Regions from separate parts of the Homo sapiens genome. Here region 1 is linked to region 2. Evidence: promoter capture Hi-C in human tissues and cell types (Jung and others, 2019). All regions are on one chromosome and are shown on one strand. Each heading gives the region's core, a stretch centred on a gene start or on the middle of the fragment in contact. The rest is flanking DNA. Distances are from core to core; before and after follow the strand shown.

Region 1 (6,798 bases), core at 569-3,068, 260 kb before region 2:
GAGGTCAGGAGTTCAAGACCAGCCCGGCCAACGTGGCGAAACCCCATCTCTACCAAAAATACAAAAATTAGCCAGGCATGGTAGTGCATGCCTGTAATCCCAGCTACTCAGGAGGCTGAGGCAGGAGAATTGCATAAGCCCAGGTGGCGGAGGTTGCGGTGAGTCGAGATCACGCCTCTGCACTCCAGCGTGGGTGACAGAGTGAAACTTCATCTCAAAAAAAGAAAAAATAAATAAAAAAATAAAAAAATAAAACATTGGGTAAGGAAGGGTAGGGTGTAGAAGGAAAATATTCTAGATCAGGAGTTGGCTTTTGGGTCAAATTTGGCCCACAACCTGATTTTATAAAAAGTTTTATTGTAACAGCCATGTCTATTCACTTACATATCGTCTATAGCTGCTTTTGTGTTACAGTGACAATTCTGAGTAGTTGTAACAGGGACCATAAGGCCTGCAACCCCCACAACATTTTACTTTACAATAAAAGTTTGTAGACCTCTGTTCTAGATTAAGAAAATTAAAAAGACATGGCAACTACGAATGCTGCGTGATCTTGGCCTGCATCCCGGATTTAAAACAAAACAAAACAGTTTTTTGAAAGAACATTAGTGGGAAAGCTGGGAAATTGTATATGGGCTGTACATTAAATGAAGGTATTAATTCAACGTTCAGTTTCTGGAATGTTGTAATTACCGTGTTAAATCAGAAAATATCCTTGTTACAGGAAATAGTTGAAGTATTTCAGAGTAAAAAGTTGATGTCTTCAGAAACGTCTCTATATTAATTCTTAATGATACAGAAAAAATGTGTGATGATACAAATTTATGTAACAGATAAGAAAGATGGAAAGATATTAACAATTGGTCAATGTTCACTGTCCTACAGTAGCTTTTATATAGGTTGAAATAACTCAAAATAAAACTTGGGAAAAAACTAAGAAGCTCCCGGAATGGAGCCAGGTGTGGTGGTACCACCTGTAGTCCCAGCTACTCCAGAGGCTGAGGCAGGAGGATCACTTGCACCCAGGAGTTTGAGGCTGCAGTGAGCTATGATCACGTCACCACACTCCAACCTGGGTGACAGAGCAAGACCCTGTCTCAAAAAGACATTCTAAAAACAAAAAATAAGGCTGGGCGCAGTGGCTCACGCCTGTAATCCCAACACTTTGGGAGGCCGAGGTGGGTGGATCATTTAAGGTCAGGAGTTTGCGACCAGCCTGGATATCACGGTGAAACCCTGTCTCTACCAAAAATACAAAAATTAGCCAGGCGTGGTGGCGCACGCCTGTCATTCCAGCTACTCAGGAGGCTGGGGCAGGAGAATCGCTTGAACCGGGGAGGCGGAGGTTGCAGTGAGCCGAAATTGTGCCACTGCACTCCAGCCTGGGTGACAAAGAGAGACTGTGTCTCAAAAAAAATTTAAAAATTAAATAAATAAATAAAGAAGTTCCCTGAATGACTGTGCAGTTGGAGCGAAGTTTGAGGAACTCCAAAATCACGTGTAAATGCGGCAGGGGACCCAGCACATAGCGCATGCTCTGTAGACAAAGGTGGCCTGGGCCAGGGCTGGGAGGGTGCCTACCAAAACATGGTGGCTGGTAGGAAAATGAAGTGACTAGTTACAGATGTAACCATTCATGCATGCACTCACCTATTCATGCCCTATTTTTTTTACTAAACAACTACTGTGTGCTGGGCCCTGTGCCAGGCACTAGGCATGCCCTCCAGGAGCTCCGGATCTGGGCACAGACAATGACAGCTCAGAGGGACAGAGGAACCTGGCCTAAGACTACTGGGCCCTCCTGTGCACTCCTACGACCCCTCAAGTCCTGCATGCAGGGCAGAGATGGGGGTGACGCTGGCTCAGCTCCAAAGGGCTGTGTCATCTGCTCCAGCTTCTACAAGTGTGCCAGGCTGGGTGAGGCAATGCCAGGCGCCAGGCACTGGGTGAGGAGGCCTCCCCCATCTCCCAAAGGGCTTGTGAGCCTGACTGGGGGCCACGGGGGCTGGCCCAGGAATGTAAACCTGGGTATGTTTGGGAAAGCTGGAGCCAGGGGTTTCCGAGGGTTGCCCACCGGAGCCTGCTGCAGGCTGGTGAACAGATGTGCATGTATTAACACTCCCCAGAGGGGCCTGGCCCCCTCCTGCCTCGGGCTGGGCATCTGGAACCAGTTAGGAGCCAGGCAGCTGGGGCACAGTTACCTTAGCTGAGGCTGAGGCTGAGCTGGGGCAGAGACCCAGGAGGAAGGGGAGGCGATGCCGGCCTGAGAACAGCAGCTCTTTGCTAGAAGGAAGGAAAGAGAAGGCCTGAAGCTGGCAAGACAGCACCTTGTCCAGTGCCCCCAGGGCCATGTCGAGACCAAGGGGACTTCCCCGAGAGAGAGTCAGAGAGCCAGGATCACATCAGTGGCCCAGTTCAGGGCTATTCACACACCCCGAGGCCCAAGGGCCATACGGTGCCCTGGTTAGGGCTGGACTCTGGAGCCAAGTTACCTAGATTTGAGTCCTGGCTTGGCCTCTGCCTAGCTCTGGCACCAGGAGCAAGCTTCTTGGTTGTCCCTCTCTGAGCCTCAGCTTCCCCTGAGCCTCAGTTTCCCCATTGGTATCAAGGGTTAAACATGGCTCTGGGCTTCAAGTCTTCCATGAGTCCATCAATGAGCTTTCTTGGGTTGGTCCCATGGGAGTCCCAGCAGGGTCTGGACAGCAGGATTTTAACCCCCTGACTCCCTCCCAGGGATCCTCCTCACATAGCACCCCTCCCCTCACTCCTCCAGGCCAGGGTGGTTACAATCTCCACGTTTTTCTCTTTTTCTTTTTTTTTTTTTCCTTCTTCACTAGAGACAGGGTCTTTCTCTGTCACCCAGGCTGGAGTGCAGTGGTGCCATCTCTGCTCACTGCAGCTTCGATCTCCCAGACTCAAGTGATCCTCCTGCCTCACCCTCCTGAGCAGCTGGGACTACAAGCATGCGTCACCATACCAGGCTCATTTTTAAGATTTTTTGTAGCGATGGGGATCTCACTATGTTGCCCAGGTTGGCCTCGAGCTTCTGGGCTTAAGCAATCCTCCCACCTCGACCTCCCAAAGCACTGGGATTACAGGTGTGAGCCGCTGTGCCAGGCCTCTCTCCCCTGTTGCTAACTCCAGGGTGCTACACCCTCTTGTCAGGTTCCTCTCCACCTCCATGTCTCAGCCTTGGCACAGCTGACATCTTGACTCCTGGCCTTCACAGTCGTGGGTGTGTCCTAGGCACTGTAAGATGCTTAGCAGCATCCGTGGCCTCTATACACTGACTCTCACAGTGTCCTCCTCCCCACTGTAGCAACCAGAAATTCCCCAGACTTTGCTGAAAGTCCCTGGGGGGAAACTCGCCCCTAGGTGAGAACCACTGGTCTACCCCTTCAACAAGTGGCTTACTCACCCCCTCCCTCACTGCTGAGACCTGAGGGCTAGAGCCTGGCTGGTGGCCCCTGACTTACTGCACACGTAAGAGCACCAAGCGCCTCACCAGGCCCCCAGGCCTAAGGGCAGTAATAGTTATTAATAAGTGTTTGGGGCCTTGGATGCACTTAGTTTCTGAGACTGAGAACTCATCAGTGCCCTGCCTGGAGAGGATGAGGGATTTTTATAGCTGTGTGACCTTGGAAAAGTTACTTGGCCTCTCTGAGCCTCCCTGCCCTTGTTTATGCAGCAGTGCTGAGCAGAGAATTGAGAGGTGCTGTGTCCAGCGATGGTGCACAGCAGGTACCCAGTCAATGGTTCCTCCCCCGACTCCTCTCCTCCTGGGGGCCCCCCTCACCTGACTGCCTGGTTCTGGCCACGGACGTCAAGGACCAAGGTGGCCTGAGAATCGCAGGTCAGCTGCAGTGAGGAGCTCATCTCTTCTGCCTCCCAGAGTCCTTGGAACACGAGCTGAGGAGGGAGCAGGCTGTGAGATGTGTGGGTGTACATAGCCTGAGGAGCCTCACAGGCTGGGTGGGGACCCCAGCCGAGCTCTATAGCCCAGCACGTCCCTGTCCCTAAGCCCAGCATGGCCTGGCTCATCCAACACTCTCACAGGTGCTGAGGATACAGGGCCGGAGTCAGCCCCTATTGCAGCTCAGGTTGGCAGTGCCCACCGAGGGACCTCAAAGGACAGCTGCAGCCCAGACGTCGACAGAGAATGTGCTCCCGGGAGGGCTCCCTGTCACCTGACCTCGAGGCCAGGAAAGGGTTTAGATGAAGCCAAGGGCACAGGGTATCCAGTCCACTCAGTTGTGGGGTACAGGGCTGAGATCCTTTGCAGGAGGGGTGACATCCTGGCCCCCTGACCCCCTGGGAGCTGCTCCCTCCTCCTACAGCAGAGTGGACTGGGGCAGGGGTTGCTGGGTAATCTGAAACAGGAGGGTGTGAAAGAAGCATTGGCGCCTGGCTCTAGAATAGGCTCTGTGGCTCTTGGAGAAGGAGGGCCCAGCCAAGCAGGACGAGTTCATGCCAAGTGACAGTGGTCAGGGCATGGCCCCATGTGGGTTCCTCTTCACCGAGGCAGGAGGACACCGTGAGGAAGGGCCTGGGTGCCAAGTCTGAGTCCCTATTTTGCTGCTAACTTGCTAGGTGACCTTGGGCAAGTCACCCACACTCTCACGTGTGACCCAGAGATGATGATGATGACGATAATAATCACTGTCAGACCATCAGCATCTTCTTCTTCATCTTTGCCTTCATCACAGCAGGTGCTTAAGGATCTACTCAGGCATTAATGGGATGAACTCACTCGATCCTCACAACCTCCACATTATAGGTAATATCATCATCCCTGTTTTGCAGATGAGGAGATGAGGGCACAGACAGGTGAAGGAATTTGCCCAAGGCCACACAGCTGGCAAGCAGCAGAGCTGGGATCTGAACATCGGAGAGGGCCTTGGTAAGGACGGTGCCATCCTGCCTTTCTCTGGAGCCTGAGGAGGATGAGACTGACGAACGCCCATAAACCCTTTGAAGGGGGCTGGGCACAGGGCAGGGCTTGACAAGCAGGAGCTTTGATTCTGACCCAAGATTGCAGGGCAGAAGGACGCAGGGCAGGAGCCAGACGAGGCTCCAGGGCACCCATCCACACCAGCCCTGTGATTGGAAATGCAGAGACTGCTCAGCAGACCTGGTTATAGCGATTATGAATGAAGCCTTTGTAAATTGTCAAGTACTGGGGAAACCCAAGGCCTGGTCCTCCCCACCCACCCTGCACACAGCGGGTCCTCTGCACACCAGGAATTGGACAGAGAGAACAGAATGTGGAGGGAGGTCCTGCTCCATCCACTCCTTACCTGGTTGGTGAAGGGCAGGCCCAGCCTCTGGAGAGCAGGCACTGTGTGGCTGGCACTGGCCACCAGCTGCAGTGGGCCACGTCGTGGCCGAGCCACCAGGGCTGCCAGGTCCATGCTGACTCCACTGTCCCCACCATGGAGGGCCACCCTGGCCTGGGTCTGGGTCTCTAGAGACAGAGAATGGCATGGGCTACTGAAGACAGCTTCACCTCCCTTCCCAGCCCAGGAACACACCAGACTACATGAGAGGCCATGCCCTGTGGCCCTCAAACACAACACCAGCAGGAAAGGGCAAGGCTGCCACAGCGTGGGTGCTGGGTGGGGTCAACCCCTTTGAGCCTCCGTGACATCATCTGTCATAATTTGTCCCTGAGGATCCAGGCCTGGGTGGCTCCTTCTCTCATTGAAGTTGAAGTTGCTGAAATGACACCTTCTCCAAGAAGCTTCCCTTGACTGCCCATCTGAAGTCCCTCCCAGTCCTTGGCTGCCAGGCATCCTCCATCCCATCTCCCTGGAGTGTGGTTTCCAGCACAACCTGAAATGACCTCGCTCACTTACTTATTAGGTTCCTGCTCCCCAAACTCTCACCCCACCAGAAGGTCAGTGCCTGGGGTCGGGATTTCCCTTAGGACAGCTCCTGACATGCAGCGGGGGTGCAGTGAGTGCTTTCTGAATGACTGTGGGATGAAAGGCTTCTCTGCAGGGATTCCTGAGGATTATGGGAGGGGTAGCCTGCAGAGGAATCAGCATGACGTCTGCTCCCCACAAATGGCCACTGCGGCCACTGACATCCACCTGCAGCCACCTGGCCCTGGCTGGAGGGTCCCGTCCTTCCCATCACCCCCTACAGAACAGGAGATTTTGGCTCACAGTTAGGAGTTTCTTCTTTGACTTAAACTCCCTTTGCTATACAGAGAAACTCATCGGGTCCAGGAGCCCCAGAGCAAACAGATGGCGCCGATTCTGTATCAGATGCCAGGTTCCCGTGGGGTGCAGCTCACGGCTCAGGCCCAAGTGACACTCAGCCAGGCTCCAGCACCTCCCATCTGGCCAGCAGGGTGGACGAGCTCCACAGCCCTGAGCCTCGACTTCCTTATCTATGAGGTGGGCACAGCCCGCCCGCCTCAAGGGACAGCGTCCAGAGTGAATGGGGTAACACACGGGAGAGGACCACTTGTGGGACATGCAGGTGGCCTCAGGAAATGCTTCCTTCCTTCCTCGTTCAACATTCAGCCACATGTACCTACTACATGCAGGGCACAAGGAGACAGGGGACACAATCCCCACACCTGGGAGCACCCGGCTGTCAGAGATACCAAGAATGTTAACGACAGGCAGAGCATCCCCAGGAGGTAGGGACAACAGACTGGACAGCAGTGGGAGAAGGGAGAAGTCACTCTTGGCTGGGGGCGGCCATACCAGGCATCCTGGGTCGGGAACTAGAGCGGCGTGGAGGTGGTCATCCAGAATGGCCTCCCCTCACTTGACTGTCATGTCCCTA
Region 2 (7,402 bases), core at 2,471-4,970:
CAATACCCACATCATACACAGAAGGTAACTAAAACATACACACACAGAAACCCACACATCATTCAGTTCTAGCTGCAGAGTGTCAACTGCCCGGGATTCTGAGCCTGAGGTCTGTGCTCTCTCCTGGACATAAGGGGGCTGAGCCAGCCTTACAGAGATGCTCAGGCCACACTAGCAGCAAAGGAGGCCTTGCCCCTAGAATGGGGAGCTGCTATGGGTTTCAGAGGTGAGTGATGCCCTCTCTGCCTTCCACCTAACCTCACCCTGCAGACCTCACCAGTGGTTCACATCTCACCCTTCAGGAAAAATCCCCTCTGGCCACGCAGTTTTCATTTTGTTCTCAGGCCTGGATCCCTTATAGAGATGCCCCAGGAGCAGAGGCCCGCCCACCCGAGCAGGGAGTCCCAGCTGTAGAGTCTCCCTTGAGGCTGAGGCCTCTCCACCCCGCCGAGCAACCCCCTTCCTTGTCCCAGCCCTTATAGCGGCTGGGGGAGTGGGCAGAGGGCCAGGCTGGTACAGGGCACACCAGCTGGACCCCAGCAAGCCCCAGGGAGCTGGGGTGAGCTCATCCCAAGCCCTCAATTATCCTCCTGGCTAATGAGCATCTGAGAACCTCCATCCCATTCTGTAAGGACGAACCCCGGGGACGTGAGGCCAGATGTCACTACGGAGGGAGGTAGAGGAAATGGGCTTGGGGGAGGGGCGCGATACTTCCTGCCTCCTCTTTGTTGGGGAGAGAAAGGTGGGGCTGCAGCAAGCAGTTAGGGTCGCAGTTAAGCGCAGGATCCTGTAGCCCATCTCATGGGCTCCAGTGCAGGCTTGGAGCCCACTACCTTGTGACTTTCAGCAAGTGAACTCGCCCTTGCTGCTCAAAGTCTGTCCCTGAATCATCAGCACCACTCGGGAACTTTTGAAAAATGCAGGATTTGGGGCTCAGACCTAGTGGGTCAGAAGCTGTATATTTTATTTTATTTTATTTATTTTGAGACAGGGCTCACTGTCACCCAAGCTGGAGTGCAACGGTGTGATCACAGCTCACTGCAGCCTCAACCTCCCAGGCTCAAGCAATCCTCCTACTTCAGCCTCCCCAGTACCCGGGAGTACAGGCGCACAACGCCACGGCCAGCTAACTTTTCTTTTTTAGAGATAGGAGTCTCACTACATTTCCAGGGCTGTTCTCAAACTCCTGAGCTCAAGCCATCCCCCTGCCTTGGCATTCCCCAAAGTGCTGAGATTACAGGTGTGAGCCACCGCACCCGGCCTCATCTCCATTTCTCAGACGAAAAAACTGAGGCACAGAAACGTTCGGCTGTTTTTCCAAAACCACCCAGCAGGAAAGCCTGGAATCTGGCAATCTGACTCCCAGCTTCTATGCCATGCTGAATCTCCCTCACCATTTTCCCCCAAGAATCTTTCCCCTCTAAGTGTCCCTGCCTCCCCTGTCATCGTGTTGCCAGTCCTGGCTCTGGGGTTCTTAGCCTGCCCCTCCCAGGTCCTCACCACTAATGAAGTCTCTGCCAACTTGAGGCGGGGACCACAAAGGCTGCTGGAACTGGCTTTGTGGGAAGAACCTATTTCCTTCCATTCTGGGCTCCTAGGTGTGGCTGATGGGGCAGGATTTGGGCAGATGTGGGGGCGGAGCTGTTCTGAGATGCCCGGCTTTGGCCTGTGGGGCAGCTGGCTGAAGCTGGGCTCTCCTCTGCCTTTCTGTCCTCCCTTCCTGCGCAACTCCCAGCTCACCTCCTGTGCCTGGCTTCCTGACTAGGCTGCCGCTGAACCCGCCCTGGAGTTCTGCAGTCCGATCATTCATTCATTCAACATCCATGTATTCAGCACCCACTGTGTGGCAGGCACTGTTCTGTAGACACAGCAGTGAGTGCAATACACCTAGTCCTGGGAGAGAAGACCAAAAGTTCATCACACAATGTCAAAAATGTACAATTTCACAATGGGTAGGCTGGGCATGGTGGCTCAAGCCTATAATCCCAGCACTTTGGGAGGCCGGGGCAGGAGGATCACCCAGGAGTTTGAGACCAGCTCAGGCAACAACAAGAGACCCTATCTCTACAAAAAATTAAAAAATTAGCCGGGCATGGTGGCATGCACCTGTAGTCTCAGCTACCTGGGAGGCTGAGGTAGGAGGATCGCTTGAGCCCAGGTTACAGTGACCTATGATTGCACCACTGTACTCCAGCCTGGGCGACAGAGCAAGACCTTCTCTCTAAAAAAAAGAAAAAAAATTGCTTCGTCAAATCTGCCCACATTCATAGATATAGGCTGAGTGGGACGATGGCTTGAGCCCAGGAAGGAGTTGGATGGAGGCTGTAGTGAGCTGTGATTGCACCACTGTACTCCAGCCTGAGTGACAGACCAAGACCCCGTCTCAAAAACAAAACAAAAAACCCCAAGGGAGCTACTCTTGGCTGGGCGATCAGGGAGGGCCCTCCTGAGGAAGGGGCACTTAAGCTGAGATCGGGAAGATGAAGTAGAAGAGTTCCAGCTGCAGGGAGCCACATAGGCAAAGGCCTGGCGGTGGGAAAGGCTTGGTGCACTGGGCGCAGGGAAGAAAGCCCAGCGAGGCTGAGTGGAGGGAGTGAGGGCCTGGCCACCTCAGCCTCGTGAGCCCAACCCGCCATGCTCTTCCAGAGGCTTCTGCTTGAGAATGGGAAAGAAGTTTCCAGCAAATAAGGCCCCCGTTCCCAGGAGGAGGTCCCAGCTCGCCCTGCCCCCTCCTGTCTTCTCAAGTCCCCTGGGCCACAGAAGCCTTGAGGGACCCACCCTCACCCCTTCTGTGGGCCCCAGGGCTGGGGTGTCCTCTCGCCGATGGCCTTCTTGGGGTGGATGAGTGGAGATTACTCCAATAACTGGAGCCTCTGTCTTCCCAGGTAGACAGGCCTGGCCTCAAAACCCTCTCTCCATCAGGAGCAGGCTGTGGGACTTCAGCTCTTTGGAGCCTCAGGTTCCTCATCTGTAAAATGGGAAGATTCTTTCTTCCGGAGTCATCTTAATAAAATGTGTTGGGCTGTTTATACAGGGCAGGCATTTGGTGGGGGCCAAACCACCGGGTAATTATGCTAAAAATAACTATGATTATAGGTGGCAGAGGGGTGCAAATGCCTCACAGCCTCATCCCGCAGAGGAATGAGAGCTTCGTCAGGGCCGGGACCTTGTCTGGCTCGTGGCTGCTCCCACGACGACTGGCGTGGCAGGCACGTGGTCAGTGTTCCGCCATCGACTGACTGGGCGGATGAATGATACATAAATGAATTCGCGAACGACTGATGCCCAGCTTCCTCCCGAAGCAAGGTCATTCACCTCAGCGGTCGCGCCTCTCCCCTGCCCCTGCCCCGGATTCCCCGCCGCTCTCAGCTCTCGAGGAGTATGCAGCACTCTTCCGTGCAGCGTGCCTCAGTTTCCTCCGCTGTAAGCAGGCGGGACCAAGGCAGCCTGCCGGGGTCAGGATGAGGCTGGCAGAGGAAGGGCGCCTGTAGTGGGGCCCCGTACCCACGGGCGCCCAATCCGCGCTCGCCAGGGCCGAGCCCGCCCGCCGCGCGCAGCCCCCGCCCCACCGCCTGCCGGCCCCGAGCACACGTGACTCCGCCCCGGCCCGCCCCGCCCCGCCGTCCCAGCGCGGGCTCCCATTGGCCTTTCTGGGAGGCCCCGTCCCCAGCCGGGGAGGAGCCGGGCCCCGCCCGCCGCAGCGCGGGGCTCCTGCGTCCCGAGTGCGCGGCGGCCGGACCGGGCGGGCGGAGCCGGGCCCGCGGGGCTGCTGCGGGGCGATCGGGCCGGGCCGCTGCCGCGCCATGGTGAGCCGGGCGGGGCAGGCCGCGCGCTCGGGCCGGGCGGGGGCGCCGGGGCCCGGGGGCGGGAAGGGGGAGGCCAGGACGAGGAGGGGCGCGCGCGGCGGCGGGGCCGGGCCGGGGTCTGCGGGCGGGGGAGGGGCGGCCCGGCGGGCGCGGCTCGGGGGAGGGTCCGTTCCAGGGGCCGCGCCCGCGGGCTGGGGTTCTTTGTCAGCGGCGCTGCGGCGAGATCCGGACAAAGGAGGCGGCGGGGGGCGGAGGCCGCTTTGTGGGGATCGCGGGGCGCTCGCCCCCGCCCGTGCAGCCCCCGCCCGTCCTCAGCTACGCTCCCGCCTTCCCCCGGCATTTCGGGGTTCTTCAAAATTCTGGGAGCTCCGGGGAGGGCTCCGGGGATAGGGGTCCAGGTGACGTCCGGCGCCCGTCTCGCGGGTAGGGAAACTGAGGCCGGGCCGCAGCGTTCGGCGCCCGGTTCCGTGGGCAGCGGCTGCGCGGCGTGGGCATGCCTAGCTCCCCTGGTCCCCGTCCCACACCCCGCCTCCGTCGGGCCGATTCGAGCTACCTCCCCAGCTGCCGTCCCCTCTCCAGCTGTCGCCCCCTGGGCCGAGCCCCCTCCTCCCTGGAGCCTCGCTTTGCTCCTCCGTGGAGTGGGGGAGACGCCGGCGCCGCCGGGCAGGGTGGAACGGGAGGGTGCGCGGAGCGCGCCTGGCACCGCGCCTGCCACGCCGCCCGCGCTCAGCACTCGGGAGCCGCCGGGGCGCTGTCACCCCTAAGTCCCCAGCACCCAGCCCAGGTCGCCCAGCCCGCCCCAGCGAGGGCCACACTGGGGTTCACCTGTCCGCGGCCCCTCAGGCACGCGGGAGAGGAGGTAGGGAGAATGTGGCATTTTAGAGTCAGGGTCGAAATGCGGGATTTTGGATGCAGGTTGCCTGGGTTTGAATCCCTGCGCGTCTACTTTTGAGCTGTGTGACCTTGGGCAATGGACTTAACTTCTCTGAGCCACCAATTTCTGTATCTGCCAAGAGGGAACAGTAATAGCTCAACTGCCCTGTTGTCTTGAGGCAGAAAGGAGACATCTGCGTGAGCTGTTTATCTCAGTGTCTGGCACATATAATTGCCACCAACTTTCTCCGGCATCTACAAGCAAAGTTGTTTGGCCAAACAGGCCAACCCTGGGGCAGCCTGTGAAAATGACCAGCGGGTGATTCACAGGGTGGGGGCATGAGCCTCTGGCCTGGCCCGAGGAAGACCCCGACTGACCTTGGGGCAGTCCCGGTTCAGAGCTCTGCGGGCTCCCGCTTCCTCTTTTGCCACTGGGGAACCTAGGGGATTCTGGAGCGAGTTTCCTCTTCTGAGGATGGGGGTGTCATGGGTGGGGGTGGAGGATGAGATAACACTGGCCAGAGAGCTGGGCACAGCCCCATCAGTGTCAGTCCCACTGGCATCCGGCCGTTCTTGGTCCTGGCTTCTGGAGGGCTGGGGCCTTGTGTGATGCGTCCTTGTGTCCCACTGGCTGCTGGAGGCCCAGGGCAGAACGGACGTCCCGCCTCGTCCTGGCTGTGTCCAGCAGTGCCCTCTTCTCCCTACAACCCTGTTTTCCCAGTCAGAACCTGGGGCAGGAAACGTTTCTGGTTTGTGACCCGGGGTTCGCTGAAGAGTTTGTTGGCACCCTTGGCAGGTGGCTTTATGGGGGGAGGCAGTACTGAAAGCCCCGTAGGGATGGCTGGTCCCCTGTAAGCAGGGCAGCCCTCCTGGCGTCTGTCAAGGAGCCTCAGGAGGTGGCGGCTGCAAGGCGGGGGTGTTTTGCTGGTGGTGAGCCCGGCAATGCTCATGATGTGCCCGGTTGAGTTAGGAGGAGGCAGCGTGTCCCTGGGGAAGGGGTGTTTGTGGCACTGGGCCTGGGCCAGGCTCTGTGCCCTTCTGGCCCTGGGGGTGGGCTTGGGGATCCCTCGGGCTCAGTGTTCTCCCTTTGTCCCTGCTGTAGCACACAGGAAGGTGTGGCTGGTGACATGCAAACCTGGTGACCTCATGTCCCTTTTGTTTTCACTTTTCTTACCACTTCTCATCCTCCCCACGACCTGGTAGATGAGGTCAGGGACTCGTATCCGCTTTGCGCATTGAGAAACTGAGGCCAAGAGGAGCAGCTTGCTTGGCTGGGCGGAAGCAGGCCGCAAAAGTGAGTGCTGGTCTGGGAGGATGGAGGGGACTCCAGCCTGCTCTACTGCGGTCTGTGGGCCCCCCGGGCCTAGAGCACATGGAGTGGCCTCTGGAGTGGGATCAGGCTCAGACAAGCCGGGGTCCTGGGAGGGAGAGCAGGACAGGAGGATACCCGTCCCCTCTCTGGTAGCTGGGGCAGGGACTGTCCATTTGAATGGCTCTGACGGGGTGGGGTTCACCCCCGGCTCTGCCCCCATGCTCCTTGGGTCCCAGTTACGGATCTCTGTGGGCCTTGGCAAACCCGGCAGGACAGTGTCAGTAACACCTGCAAGCTTGGGCTGCTGGGGAGGAGTGGCCAAGGGCGGTGCAGGCCCCCGCTCACCTGGCATGGCTCAGGCTTGTCTTGCAGTTGTTATTCCTTGGGACATGTGTGGGCTCTGCCGGGAGACAGAGTGTGTCCTGTGCTGCAGTTGACCTCCTTTGGGGTTGTTTGAGGATGCTGGGGCAGGGGGTTCTGGAGAGCCTGGGCCTTGGATCTTGCTTTTATAGTGGGTGGGTGGGATCCGAGAGTCAGGACCCCCTTGGCAGAGGATGGCAAGACTGAAGGCACATGGAGCAGGAGGGTGTGTGTTTGGGGGATCCAGATGGCCTTGGGCTTCAAATGCCAGGCAGAGGGGACACTCCAGCCTGCCCAGAGATGGAAGGCCCAGGCTGTGCTCTGGGTCCTGGCCCCTCTGCACTTGGAAGACCCCTTGGCTCTGCTGGGCTCCCCTCTGGGCTCCCATCCTGCCTTCTGGCTTTTTGCTTCACCTCCCTGCGTGCGCCTCAGTTTCCTCACCTGCCAGATGGAGATGCTAGGGTGAACAAAGGTGGCTGCAGCCTTTCTGGATCAGATGCTGGTGGGAATGAATGTGAGCTGCTGTCATGATGGTTGTTGGGTGGGCCAGGATTCCCATGTGCCAGCCTGGGCATCTCCCCAACCCAAGCTGTGGCCCGTCCCTGTCCCCTGCATCCTGTGGGCTTTACTGGATCAGGGCGAGGGGTTACCCAGCTTGCAAGACACAGCTTTGCTCAGAGGGGCTAGAAAGGAAGAACAGACAGGTGGGGTCCAGCCAGGCACAGGGGCTTGTGGGGACCTGCTGCCCTCCGCGCTTTGAGTTTCCCGGGGCTCTGCTTGGCCACCCCCTTCCCTCCCTGCCTGCCAGCAAGCATGGAGCCAGCTGCCCTTCCATGGGCTCAGGCCTGCCCTAATCCACTGGCACTCGCCGTTCTGTCCCCACACTAGGCCTGCAGCCTTCTCCCATGCAGTCTGCCGGCTTTTTTGAGTCTGTTGGGACAGAACATGGGGACCTGTGCTCAGGGTTCTGGGAGTGCCCTGAGTGTCAGGGACCCCCCCACCTATGATCCCCCTGAGAACAGGGTCTCCTCTAACTCATCACTGTATCTGC

What was found. Contacts are between HindIII fragments. The study calls those that stand out against the background at their distance.
Region 1: a contact is called between a fragment that was not itself captured here and the fragment with the promoter of SNN in region 2, in 2 of the 25 tissues and cell types used here (lymphoblastoid cells and small bowel).

The regions. Positions count from the first base shown.
Region 1 is chr16:11,409,045-11,415,842 of GRCh38, forward strand. It overlaps LOC400499 (putative uncharacterized protein LOC400499), which reads right to left. Exons shown (of 67, transcript NM_001370704.1): 44 at 5,298-5,464; 45 at 3,797-3,909; 46 at 2,202-2,283. Among named protein-coding and RNA genes, the nearest start is that of RMI2, 67 kb to the left of the region's middle. RefSeq lists an enhancer at 4,877-5,848. The HindIII fragment of the contact is 4,647 bases long and covers 1-4,142 here.
Region 2 is chr16:11,664,735-11,672,136 of GRCh38, forward strand. SNN (stannin) reads left to right here and starts at 3,721. Exons shown (of 2, transcript NM_003498.6): 1 at 3,721-3,806. RefSeq lists a silencer at 3,394-3,813 and an enhancer at 4,921-5,020. The HindIII fragment of the contact is 16,457 bases long and covers 1-7,402 here.